Linked DNA regions of Homo sapiens: region 1 is linked to region 2. Evidence: promoter capture Hi-C in 16 types of primary human blood cells and fetal thymus (Javierre and others, 2016). All regions are on one chromosome and are shown on one strand. Each heading gives the region's core, a stretch centred on a gene start or on the middle of the fragment in contact. The rest is flanking DNA. Distances are from core to core; before and after follow the strand shown.

Evidence for each region. Contacts are between HindIII fragments. The CHiCAGO score rates a contact against its expected background, and 5 or more counts as called.
Region 1: a fragment that was not itself captured here is called in contact with the fragment with the promoter of BHLHE40 in region 2 in 1 of 17 cell types (non-activated CD4 T cells); the score reaches 5.2 in non-activated CD4 T cells.

What each region holds. Positions count from the first base shown.
Region 1 is chr3:3,169,012-3,175,239 of GRCh38, forward strand. It overlaps CRBN (cereblon), which reads right to left. Exons shown (of 11, transcript NM_016302.4): 2 at 6,152-6,228; 3 at 5,048-5,250; 4 at 3,765-3,914. Among named protein-coding and RNA genes, the nearest start is that of CRBN, 7.6 kb to the right of the region's middle. The HindIII fragment of the contact is 2,401 bases long and covers 3,583-5,983 here.
Region 2 is chr3:4,975,892-4,982,026 of GRCh38, forward strand. It overlaps BHLHE40 (basic helix-loop-helix family member e40), which reads left to right and starts at 3,546. Exons shown (of 5, transcript NM_003670.3): 1 at 3,546-3,907; 2 at 4,071-4,140; 3 at 4,410-4,517; 4 at 5,501-5,624. The coding sequence starts at 3,828. BHLHE40-AS1 (BHLHE40 antisense RNA 1) reads right to left here and starts at 4,070. Exons shown (of 3, transcript NR_125916.1): 1 at 3,904-4,070. RefSeq lists enhancers at 159-338, 1,768-1,957, 2,258-2,377, 3,678-3,827, 3,935-4,529 and 1 more and silencers at 2,488-3,257, 3,468-3,527. The HindIII fragment of the contact is 7,213 bases long and covers 936-6,135 here.

The sequences.
Region 1 (6,228 bases), core at 3,533-6,032, 1.8 Mb before region 2:
ATATACCATCCTATAGAAATTTTTAGAAATCTGATTCTTCAAGGTTATAGGTAACTGAATTAAGAACTATGCTTTACCCAACTATTGTATAAGATTTGATTATGATAAAAACAGTAACATTATTGATCCCCTGGCTTACAGATCATGTTAATTAGTCTGCAGTACAAACTGTCTGAATTGCCTTGAAGGATTAAGGAATGCTCTCCTTTACCTGGTTAAACATGGCCAGGGTCCACTGCATATGCAGTGGCTGGTTCTTCTCCCAGCAGCTGAGTTTTGTTTTTAACATAAGCTAGTTTTTTTTCTTTCCAACTTGTTTATCACAGTTGTTTTGTGATTACAGCAACATAATTTATATAAATGTTATAAAAACCAGTGAAATATGACTTCAACAATAAAACTGCTTCAAGGAACATTAAGTTGAGACATAAACTGCTTTCAAATTAGGTACAGACTACTCTAATAGGAAAAAAACCGCACAAATCTGGAAAAATTCTGCACTCAAATTGCCTTGTGACTATCTTTAGAATCCCTCTTTAAAGAAAAACTAGCAGTATAAACTGTGGATAATGTACAATGAAAGTGCCAGAAAGTCTACAGTCATCTCCAATCTGCAGAACTGCTTCAATGGAAAGACCTTGGTCTCTCCAGATGAAAAATGAATGAATTTATAAAGTTAAAATAAAATGTTTAAGCTATATATGTGTAACATTTTGTGATTTCCAGCTTCAGCTAACTTTTTGACTAACAATTATTGGTCTCAGTCTAGACAGGTAAGAGATCTTCTCTTGTGATGCCAATAGGATATCAATCCCCTCCTCCTCTCTACATGCTAAGAAGTAGGAACTTCTGAAGAGTCCTATGTCAGTGAGACCTGTTTTTATTAAAAAAAAATTTCTATGTGTTCAGAAGATGCCCACCCCCCCTCCGCCCTCCCCAACCCACACACACTCATGACTTTGGGGGTTGTATACTTTTTTTCTTTTTTGAGATGGAGTCTCACTGTTGGCGAAGCTGGAGTGCAGCGGTATAATCTCTGCTCAGTGCAACCTCTGCCTCCCAGGTTCAAGTGGTTCTCATGCCTCAGCCTCCCGAACAGCTGGAATTACAGGCACAGGCCACCATGCCCAGCTAATTTCTTGTATTTTTAGTAGTGATGCAGCTTCACCATGTTGGCCAAGCTGGTCTTGAACTGCTGGCCTTAAATGATTCACATACCTTGGCCTTCCAGAGGGCTGAAATTACAGGTATGAGTCACCACACCTGGCCTCTGTAGTGTACTTTTAATAAATGAAGTGTCATTTAGGTAAAAGATGGATATTTATATTTTTTAATTTTTATTTTTCTATATGCTTATTTCTCTAAGAAAAACAAATGAATATTAAATATTTTACTGGAGAAAGGGAAGCTGGCTTGAGTTTCAAATGTGTTATAGAGAAATTCTGGTATAATGGAAGGAGTACCAGTTTGGAAGTCATGGGACCTAGAACCAATCAGGTCTGTCGCTTATTTGCTGTTTAAGCAAATTACTTAACCTCTCTAGTACCTGGCATTCTGATACAGAAAAAGACGAGACTGAACTAAATCAACTCCAGAATTTCTTTCATTTCACCATTTCCAGTGAAGGTGGTTACAGGGCCAGAGAAGTAGTGGAGCCAAGAGAAATCTCATTCCACAGAGGCCTTTTAAATGAAGACAGACATACCCTTATGAGAGGCCTTAATAATGGGTCTACAGAATACTAGAGAGAATGTGCCCTTTCCAAGTCTTGTCCACCTGTATCAGTTTGATGTTAATCTTTTTTTTCCTTTGAGATGGAGTTTTCCTCTTGTTGCCCAGGCTGGAGTGCAGTGGTGCCATCTTGGCTCACCACAACCTCTGCCTCCCGGGTTCAAGCGATTCTCCTGCCTCAGCCTCCCTAGTAGCTGGGATTACAGTCATGCGCCACCATGCCCGGCTAACTTTGTATTTTTAGTAGAGATGGGGTTTCTCCATGTTGGTCAGGCTGATCTCAAACTCGTGAGCTCAGGTGATCGTCCTGCCTTGGCCTCCCAAAATACTGGGATTACAGGCATGAGCCACTGTGCGCGGCCTGATGTTAATCTTTACTAGAGTCAAAAATCCATTCCTTGTCTTGTTTTCAGAGTTAACGGTATACTGCCATCTTGTGTTCAATAGTTTTTCCACAATCAAAAGTCACTAATGTCAAGACAGTCTGAGAAATATACTTTTCCCCAAGTCAATTTTCCTTAATGATTTCTATAAAAGTATTCACAAATAATCAAAATTGTATGAAGATAAGAAGTACTTTAAAAATGGAACTGTTAGCAAAATCCACAGTAACAAAACAGTTTGCTAATTATCATAATGCAGACCACCCCCACCCGCCCCAGGAGATCATTCTTTCATTCATTTATATAAAATTTATGGTCCTAAATGTAAAACATAAATAAGTCTTGGTCATTGTTCTCAAGCAGCTTATCTATTGAGGGAGACGTACATAAAATCCTGTCAGGACAGTGCAATGTGGTAAGGCTATCAAAGTTTGCACAGTGAATGTTCTGGAAAAGTACCTGGGGAGAACTAAACACCCTAAGAGCTCTGGCAATCCCATCTCACATGCCTCTATGCTCTCTTTAGCTCCAAGGAGCTACCTGACATGTCAATATTTTCATAATTCAAAAATATATAGGAACGCCCACCATGTGAACAAAACAGACAAAACGTTCCTGCCCTCATGCTGCTCACATTGTTTTTTCAGTCTTAATCCCCCACCCCGCCCAAAAAAACCCCAAAATACTCAGAACTTGCATGTGTTCAGAAGATACCACCTGGGCAACACAGAGGTCTGATGAGATTTTCAACTGTGGGTATAAATTGGAAACCAATTCACTAGTACTTGTATTGCGTACCAGGACTGTGTATCTGTGAGACCTCACGGGTGATGCCACAGTTTAGAAGCACTCCGTTAAGAGGTAATATCCAGTGATCAAGGCAAATGCTTTGTTTCCTTTTTAAAAGAGGATAAAATAAACTGGACTTTTTTGTGTCTGTTTTAATGTGTATCCCTTGAATTTGTGCAAAACCCAGCCATGACAGCTTTGTCAAAATGAATTACTGCTGAAACAGTATACTCAGGGAATTTCTAAATGTCACAAGGCACATAGACTACAAGTATTTATTGATCATTTATTATGTAAATAGCATTTCTGGGTGATATAAAATTCACACTGGAGAGGGACACGAAATATAAATGGCTTTTATAGCTCAGCTGGAGCAGTAGGCAGATGTAACCAGTGTGGCTTTCAAACATCATAGCAATGCTACAAAAACCACAGCTGTCCTGGTGAGCACACGAACAGCTCACAAGCCTCTGGTCTCCCTATCCTCTTATGCTCCGAGAGGCCTTCAATCCTAAAGAAGCCAAATCCCAAACAACACTTCCCTTTGGATTTACATGATTGTTCTCAAACCTGGAGAGACATTAGAATCACCTGAAAATCATTTTTAAAAGATGCTGCAGCCTCATCACTCTCTGGAGATGGGAGATGAGGTTGGAACTCAAGCTTCTATAGTTTTAAAAGCTTCCCAGGTGATTCTGATGCATAGCAAGGTTGGAAACCACTGGGCTATACCTTAGAAGGGAAAGAGAACAACTAGTTAAAAGTTACAAAATATGAAGGCTCAGTAGAACAGAAAAAGTACAAGAAAACTATTTCATTAGGAAACATTCAAAGAGCATTAAGGTATATGTTATTTCTTACCCATCTGACTGTGTTCTTAGCTCAAGGACTTTGAACCTTTGTCTTCCAATTGCTTTCACTTTCACTATCTCAATTCCAAAATCCTGTTCTTCTCGATAGGCATATATCTCTGCTGTTGTTCCAAACTGTGCTTCCCTTTCCTGTACATTGCTTCCAAGAAAATTTTAAAAGGAAAGAATTTTGAACATTTGAGTTTTAAATATATGCAAAGTAGGCAAAGCAATAAATACAGGTAAACAATTTATAGAATCAACCCTTACTACAAAGCTAGGATAATTTTATTTATTTATTTATTTGTTTGAGATGGAGTCTCGCTGCGTTGCCCAGACTAGAGAGCAGTGGCATGAGCTCGGCTTGCTGCAGCCTCTGCCTCCCAGGTTCAAGTGATTCTCCTGCCCCAGCTGCCTGAGTAGCTGGGATTACAGGCACATACCACCACGCCTGGCTAATTTTTGTATTTTTAGTAGAGACGGGGTTTCACCATGTTGGTCAGGCTGGTCTCAAACTCCCGACCTCAGGTGATCCACCCGCCTCGGCCTCCCAAAGTGCTGGGAGTATAGGCGTGAGCTACCATGCCCGGCCAATTTTATTTATTTTTAAATCACATGGGGGATATACAAGAAGGACTCAGGAAGTACAATTAGAGAACTTTAGGAAAATAATAGATTTCTAGTCACTGAAAATAATTTAGAACTTACAGGGGTTTAAACTCATTTCCCAAACCAAACATTCTTTCACTCTGTCAAATGACTTATCATTTCTGCTGCTTACTGGCAGCACTGTACTGGGGTGGGAGCTTCCTGTATGTATTTCCTGCCTCTACCGCAGATTTCCTTTATTTGCCATGGGATACTTAAAATTCAGCTTCAATTTAAAGTGGTACAACCTATGAATTTTGAGAGAGAGGGAAAGAAAAGACCACTCTTTTGGAAAAGTAATCCTTTACGTTAAAATAAAAAAGCACTACTTCTCTATAATGAAGACAGTTATTGAAACTAAGATTCCAGAAATGTTTTTCATCAAATATAAATGATTAAAAATTTTTCAAATACCAGAAAGTTAAATTGTGTATGAAGGTGAAGAGCTGAGTTAGATGGTAATGAAATGAACAAAAATACTCCAACTTGCACTATCAAACTTCTACTTAACCAAATTCCTAACCTCACATTCTTACCCAACCTCTCCTGTACATGCGAAATAACAGCCTGCTTTGGCTTCAACACTGACCACTGCAATTACCCATGAGAGGGAATGTATTAAGCAAATGGACTCTAATATTTTACCTGTATGCAAGAACAGCAAAGGTTCTATCTTTCTGAATTAAATTCCGCACCATACTGACTTCTTGAGGGTGAAAAAGCTGAAGAGGTAATGTCTGTCCGGGAATCAGGATCATCATCACTTGTGGAAGAACTGGAATCACCTGACAGCTGTCGTCATCGTGCAAAGTCCTGCCATGAAATTCTTCCATATCAGCACCTAGGTACTATATAAAAACATATATAGGTATAGTGTCATGATCGATATGTAATAAAAATGTAAGCTCAACAGACTAAAGAGCAAATCACATTAAAAGAAATACAGGCCGGGCACAGTGGCTCACACCTGTAATTCCAGCACTTTGGGAGGCCGAGGTAGGCGGATCACCTGAGGTCAGGAGTTCAAGACCAACCTGGCCAACATGGTGGAACCCTGTTGCTACTAAAAATACAAAAATTAGCCAGGTGTGGTGGTGGACACCTGTAATCCCAGCTAATCGGGAGGCTGAGGCAGGGGAATCACTTGAACCTGGAAGGTGGAGGCTGCAGTGAGCTGAGATTGTGCCACTGCACTCACTCGAGCTTGGGCGACAGAGCAACACTCTGTCTCAAAAAAAAAGAAAAAAATACAAATGGGGTTACAAACACTTAATAAACGTGGTATATAAGCATCCCATGTTAAAATATAATTTTTAATCTAACTTTAACTCTTAGAAGAATTTCTAATCTTTTATGAATATATCACAAACACAGAAATTCAAGAATTTTTTTAGTACAAAGTATTATTTTTACCAAGAAATATCTCTATGCCCACATATCACAAACAGTAAGTATAAAATGTTAGTATGTTCAATAACACTCTAGTACCTAGAAGTACAGAGAAGTATTTAATAGCTCAATTACCAGAAAGAGTATAAAGAGCAACAATTCCTCAAACAATTCTACCACAACATAGTATTAAGCTTCTTAAAAATTACAGTTAAATGTTTATCTACTGGCAAATAGCCCATGTCCTCATCCACAATTTCTGATATCTAGTAATACAAATATCAGTCACTTGTTTTTATGAACTTTTATCTACATTTAAATGTATATCTATTATATTAGATCTGTCACTAAATTACATACTGTATGTGATGTCGGCAGACTGGTGTCAAAATTTATGATGTTTGGTTTTTTGGCTTCTTTACTATCCTGGTCTTCAA
Region 2 (6,135 bases), core at 2,296-4,795:
TGTAAAGACATACGTGTGTGTATTGAGACATGATGTAAAATGTATTTCTTACCGTGAGCTGAGATAAAAATTTTTGAGGCTTCATAAGCAGGTAAAAAGTGATATCTGAGCAAGCAAGTTGTGGGGATGTATAGGGGAGCTTGGGGCTCTAAATTCTTGCACAGGAAGGGCCCGGGAGTTACTATAGATAGTAACAGTATAGACTCATTCAGCACACAGTGTAAGGCCACCAAGATGCTGAGTCCCAATAGGAAAGAAGAGAAAGATCCCATCTTTCTCTTGTACGAAATTATGTTCTCTCCCCACTTAGAAGAGACAAAACAGCAGGGACGGCTACAAAATGGCAGGATTACCCAGTGCAGCTGCTCAGTGCCACATTGCACAACTCCAGAGGGTGCTCTCACACAGACTGCAATGTGAATAGCTCCCCCTGGAGTTGAGCGGTGCACAACCCAAACAACCCTACCAGGCAACCGTAAGTATAGTGATTAAGAGCACAAGCTTTGGAGTCCAACAAACCTGGGGGCCTGTCTCAGACTGAATCCCAGACTATATAACCTGGGGCAGGTTATTTAGCCTCCTTGAGCCTCAATTTTCCAAACAGAATATGTTATACATCCCTAGGGCCTATTTCAGTGTCTGGCATTGAATAACAATAAACACGTGTCAAATGCATCGAGCTAATACTAGTACCTGCCTAAAAGGTGGTGGTGAGGAGCAAAGAAATTGACATACGAAAGGTTTTTAATATCTACAAAAGATGACAGACTGAAATAGTAACATTCTCCAGGATGGAAAGATCTATGCCACGTAGGAATTGTTTGTTCAAATTATTATTTTTTAAAAGCCATAAGCTATGGAGAGAATAACAGAGTTTTGTTTTGTTTTTTAATCCTGATACGGTGGAAGTCTGGTAGGATGGGAACCGTTCTTGAAGCTTGAGAATACATTCGGAACAAATAAAAAGTAGGAAATGCATACATTTTGTTATTTACAGTTGTAGGGCAGGTAAGGGCAAAACGTATTGATAAACTCAAAGAATTTTAAGAATGATATTGTCATGAGCCATGAGCCATGGAAGCTGCAAGGTTTGGGCTCCCTCCTGCCATCGGGTGGGGGGTGTCGGCGGAAGGGGGTACGTGTCCTGTCCTCTCCCAGTGCTTATTTCCTGCTGGAACCGTGGTTTTGACGCAGCCGTGACAGCCCTTCATCCTTATTAAAATCACACAATGAAGCAGGTCGCCCAAGATTGAAAGCGCGTTTCCAGGGCGGACCCCGGTCCCCGCCTTTGGCCAGCAAAAGTACATTCTGGCAGGGAGGGATCTCTGAGCCCCGAAGTGAGGTCATGCCAGTTAGCAGTTAGAAAAGGAGGCATTTCTCACACTTGCTAAAGAGTTTGACGCTTGTGAAATATAAACAGGAAGCGGGAGCTCTCCAAGGCGACCTGAAGGAAATACACTGCCAGTTTGGTCAACTTGTGAATGCCAGTTCTCTAGGTCGTCAAGGGCACTGCCAGTTAAGACTGATCCCCTAACTGCACCCGAGGCTACTACTCTTCGCCCAGTCTCGGCAGTGACCCCATTTTTTTTTCAATCCTTCCCACAGCCAGGTCACTCAGCAGTGGGGTGACTGACCCGAAGCGCAGTGGGAAGGGCTTACAGTCATCTCTCAACTCCCCGAACTTGCAGGGCAGGGGAGCGCAGAGGTCAGTGAAATCCCCAGCCAGGCCTTATTTTAGTCATGAGTTTCCACTGGCTCCCTCCTCTGACTGTATCAGCGCTGCTCACACCGCGGGATTGGAGTTTCAGCTGTTTTCCCTGCTCCCGGCTGAGTGAGAAGGTCACAGAGCCCGGACCTTTCCGGGGGAGGTGGGTGGGGCCCTCCGGCAGCCTAAGTGAGATTGCAGAGATCTGGGGCCGCTGGAGGAGGTCCTTCCGCCCCGGGCTTGGGGCTTTGGGTTAGCTTCTCCCCCGCTTCTCTACCTAGGCATCTCGGTTACAATGAAATTAAAAACAAAACACAAAGCAACACAAGTTCTCATTGTTTTTCCCCTCTGTCAGCCAGTGGCCTCGATACAATTTTCCCAGGGCTGCCTTTCCTTTATTGCTCAATTTAACCTCTTCCTAGAGGTTCTGCAAGTTCAAGGGCAGGATCCGTGTCGGATTCATCAACTAGTGCAGCGCCTAGTGCAGAGCAGGGGGCTCAAGAAATACGTGTCGACCGCATGATTGCTAAGATTTCCCTGTAACAGGCGGTTTTTTTTTCTTGTCTCTCTCATCCCTCCTGCCCTGGGTGCAGACCGCGAACAGCGCCGCCGAACTTCCCAACAGGCAGGGAGAGGGCCGATCCGGGCTGGCACGCCACGTCCCCGGGGTCTCAGTCCCTGGGTCAACGCAGAGAGGCTCGCGGTCCGCGGTGCTACGACCTGAGCCCGGCCACGTGAAGCGTCACGCCCTGCGCTGCTGCAGGGCAGGCGCCGCCGCCGCGGTTGTGTAACGCTGCAGCCGGAGGGGAGGCGACCGGGGCGCCTCTGCTCCGGAGGGGGCAGAGGAGGGAGGGAGCGCCGGGCACAGCGCCCGGTATCTTTCTGCGCTTGACTGGCCGGGAGGAAGGGGGTGACACTGGGGCACCCAGGGGGCTGCGCAACCGGGTGCCCGCCCGCCCGCAGGTTGTGCCCAGGAGCGGAGCTCCTGGGAGCGAGGGGCCCTCGGCTCACACCCTCCACGGTCAGGTGCGCGCGGCGTGCTCGGCGGCAGCCTCAGCTGCCCCTGCGCTTGGCCGTCGGCCCGCTTCCCATGGGGTGACATCCGCCCCGCCCCTCGGTCCCTCCCCAAGGCGGGCAATTCCTGGACGCGAGGGTGAGCAGTGGGGGCAGGGAAGCCAGGACGGAAAGAAACCCCAGCCTCTGGGGAAGGCTGGGGGGCCGGGCGACTCCCTCCGCAGCGCGCCGGTTCCTCCAAGCGGGCCGGGCGGGGGAGGAGGAAGAGGGCTGGGCTGGAGCTAGCAAGGGGATATTCCTCTCCCGGCTTGAGTCAGACGCGGGCGGATCCGTCCTCCCCCGTTCCCTCCCAGGAGACGGGAACTTACTTCATTTCCCTGGGGCAGGTTCGCCCACGTTACCAACTTCTCCCCCTCCCCCAGCACCCCCGTCCCTTCCAGCTTCCGCGCCCCCCACCCAACTGGGCAGGACCCAGGTCGTGCTGCCACCCCCTCTTCGGGGAAAGGCGGCCGCAGCCGCAGACACCTGGGGGCCGGGGCTGGGGGTGGGGGCTCCCTAGCAGCCGCCGGAGCGTTGTCCAACACGTGAGACTCATGTGATGAAGCCGGGGGAGGGCGGGCAGGTCGCTCCTTCCCTCCCCGGCAGTGGCCAGACGTGCCTGGAGTCACAGGGTAGAACACGTAGCTCCAACCCACCCACTCGCTCCCATTTAACCCAGCCCGCAGCCTCTCCATTACTCCTCGGCTTGCCCCCCCACCCCCCCACTCCGCCCTAACCGCCCCCCCCTCACCCGCTCCCTCCCGCCTCCCCGCCCGCCCCACTTCTCATTCACTTGGCTCGCACGGCGCAGACAGACCGCGCAGGGAGCACACACCGCCAGTCTGTGCGCTGAGTCGGAGCCAGAGGCCGCGGGGACACCGGGCCATGCACGCCCCCAACTGAAGCTGCATCTCAAAGCCGAAGATTCCAGCAGCCCAGGGGATTTCAAAGAGCTCAGACTCAGAGGAACATCTGCGGAGAGACCCCCGAAGCCCTCTCCAGGGCAGTCCTCATCCAGACGCTCCGCTAGTGCAGACAGGAGCGCGCAGTGGCCCCGGCTCGCCGCGCCATGGAGCGGATCCCCAGCGCGCAACCACCCCCCGCCTGCCTGCCCAAAGCACCGGGACTGGAGCACGGAGACCTACCAGGGTAAGTTGGCACTCCTTGGCCCTTCAAGCCTCAACTGCAGCCCCATGTTATGCGCCACTCTCAACTTGGAGCAGCTCCGGGCGCACCGGGAGGTTCTTGCCCGGCAGAACGCCTGCAGCCGTGCGCAAGCAGTCACGACCCTTCCTGGTCTCTCTTCCTGCAGGATGTACCCTGCCCACATGTACCAAGTGTACAAGTCAAGACGGGGAATAAAGCGGAGCGAGGACAGCAAGGTAAGCAAGTGCACCCCTAGGGACCCTGCGCTCAGCCCCTCGCGCGCGCTGAGTTTCCAAGAAAAGTTTTCTCGCTTTGAGGTTGGCGAGGGGATGCAGGGTGTGGGCTCGGTGCCTCTTCTGAGTGACTTGGAAAAGAAAGGGCAGACGATGGTTCTGGGTGCTACTCTGCTACTCTGCTCCTCTGCCGGACTGTTGCTGCGGGGCTGGGAGGATAGGCTTCTCATCTCCTTCCCCAAGCGCCCACCGCCTCCCCGTGCGTCTTGCAGGAGACCTACAAATTGCCGCACCGGCTCATCGAGAAAAAGAGACGTGACCGGATTAACGAGTGCATCGCCCAGCTGAAGGATCTCCTACCCGAACATCTCAAACTTACAGTAAGTGAGAAGCTGGCCCCTTTCCAACCCAGTCCTTTGCCCAGAGGGCGGGCGGGTCACTCGCCGCCTGCAGGTTCCGCGGGGAACTGCAGACCAGACTGGCGGATCAGAGCTGGCGGGTGGCTCTGCGGTGGGGTCCTCCTCCACAGTCCTGGCGTTTTCTGGCTGACTCATGCAAATGAGGCGAGAACCACTTGGACCTCTCCAAGTTGGCTCCAACACCAACTGGCCTTCCTTTTCAGGAGTTTAACTTCTGGTGATTTTCAGGATTCCCTAGTTTTTCTCACTTAAAGGAACACGCCAAGAAACACACACATTTTATTTACCCCTTCCCCTCTACCACTCCCCCCACCTTTTTTGTTGTTGTTGTCAAATAAGGGGACTTGCTTTGGTGTGTGATTTTTACGGCCTGTCCTTTCTTGACAGTAGCCCTCGGCTACTTCGCAGCCTTTGGTTGGGGAAATGGAAAAAAAAAAAATAGTATTTCGGGAGGAACAAAAAAGCCTGGATGAGCTGGAAGTTCTGAAAGGGTGTAAGGAAAGAAGTAGGGAAAGCCTCTTGGCTGCCAGACGTAATAGAGGTCCCTCTCTGAGTTGACACCACTGCAGGAAAATGTTATCTCTGGATTCCCCTGAGTTAAGGTCGGCAGAGGCTGCTGGAGAAATTTATCTGTCAAAGGATTTTCCTGAGGTAGTTGCAGCTTCCAAAATGCCTCCAAAGACAGGTGGCACCCGTTTTTTTAAATTATTTAATTATATATATATATTATATATATATACACACACACACACACACACACACACACACACATATATGAGTGTATCTGTCTATCTTTTTAAAAGCATGACCTACAGACTTAAAACAGCCAACCAGGAAACACTATTCCACTTTTTTTTTTCTTTTCTCATTTCTCATTGCTAATAAATGTCCCAAAGGTGGGACTTCTCTGACCTCACCGCTGACTAAGGCTCTTTTCCTTCCAGACTTTGGGTCACTTGGAAAAAGCAGTGGTTCTTGAACTTACCTTGAAGCATGTGAAAGCACTAACAAACCTAATTGATCAGCAGCAGCAGAAAATCATTGCCCTGCAGAGTGGTTTACAAGCTGGTGAGTGCTGATTCTGGCTATGCTCTCTTTAAGAGTTTGAGTGCAAATAGAGAGCCCGTGGGCTCAACATCTGATGTAATAAACATTACTGCAACAAATTGCTTATGCACGTTCATTGGGGGAGATGCAGTTTTATCTTTCCTAAAAGGTCAGACTTTTCATTTGAAATGCATTGTGCCACCTGGCATGAATACGTATTAGTGAAATGATAAGATATTCCTGTGGCATTTTAGCTTGAGAGTCTCTGGGTTCTGGGAGATTTCCCTACTCCCTTTTAAAATGCCAAGGCACCTATAATTTGCATTGTGGGTGTTTTACAGTTGGTCTTCTTAGCCCTCTTTCATTGGAGAAGAAATCATGGGTATGCCCCAGCGTTTTCCTGTTTCTTTGCTTCCTTGTCACTTGGTGTGTGGTGTGATCCTGGCAGGATACAGCAGGAGTTTTTCCTGCATTTCATGTGGTTCCCTGAATAGCCACTAGGTATCTTGGTGAATTGCACAATCTAGCGAAA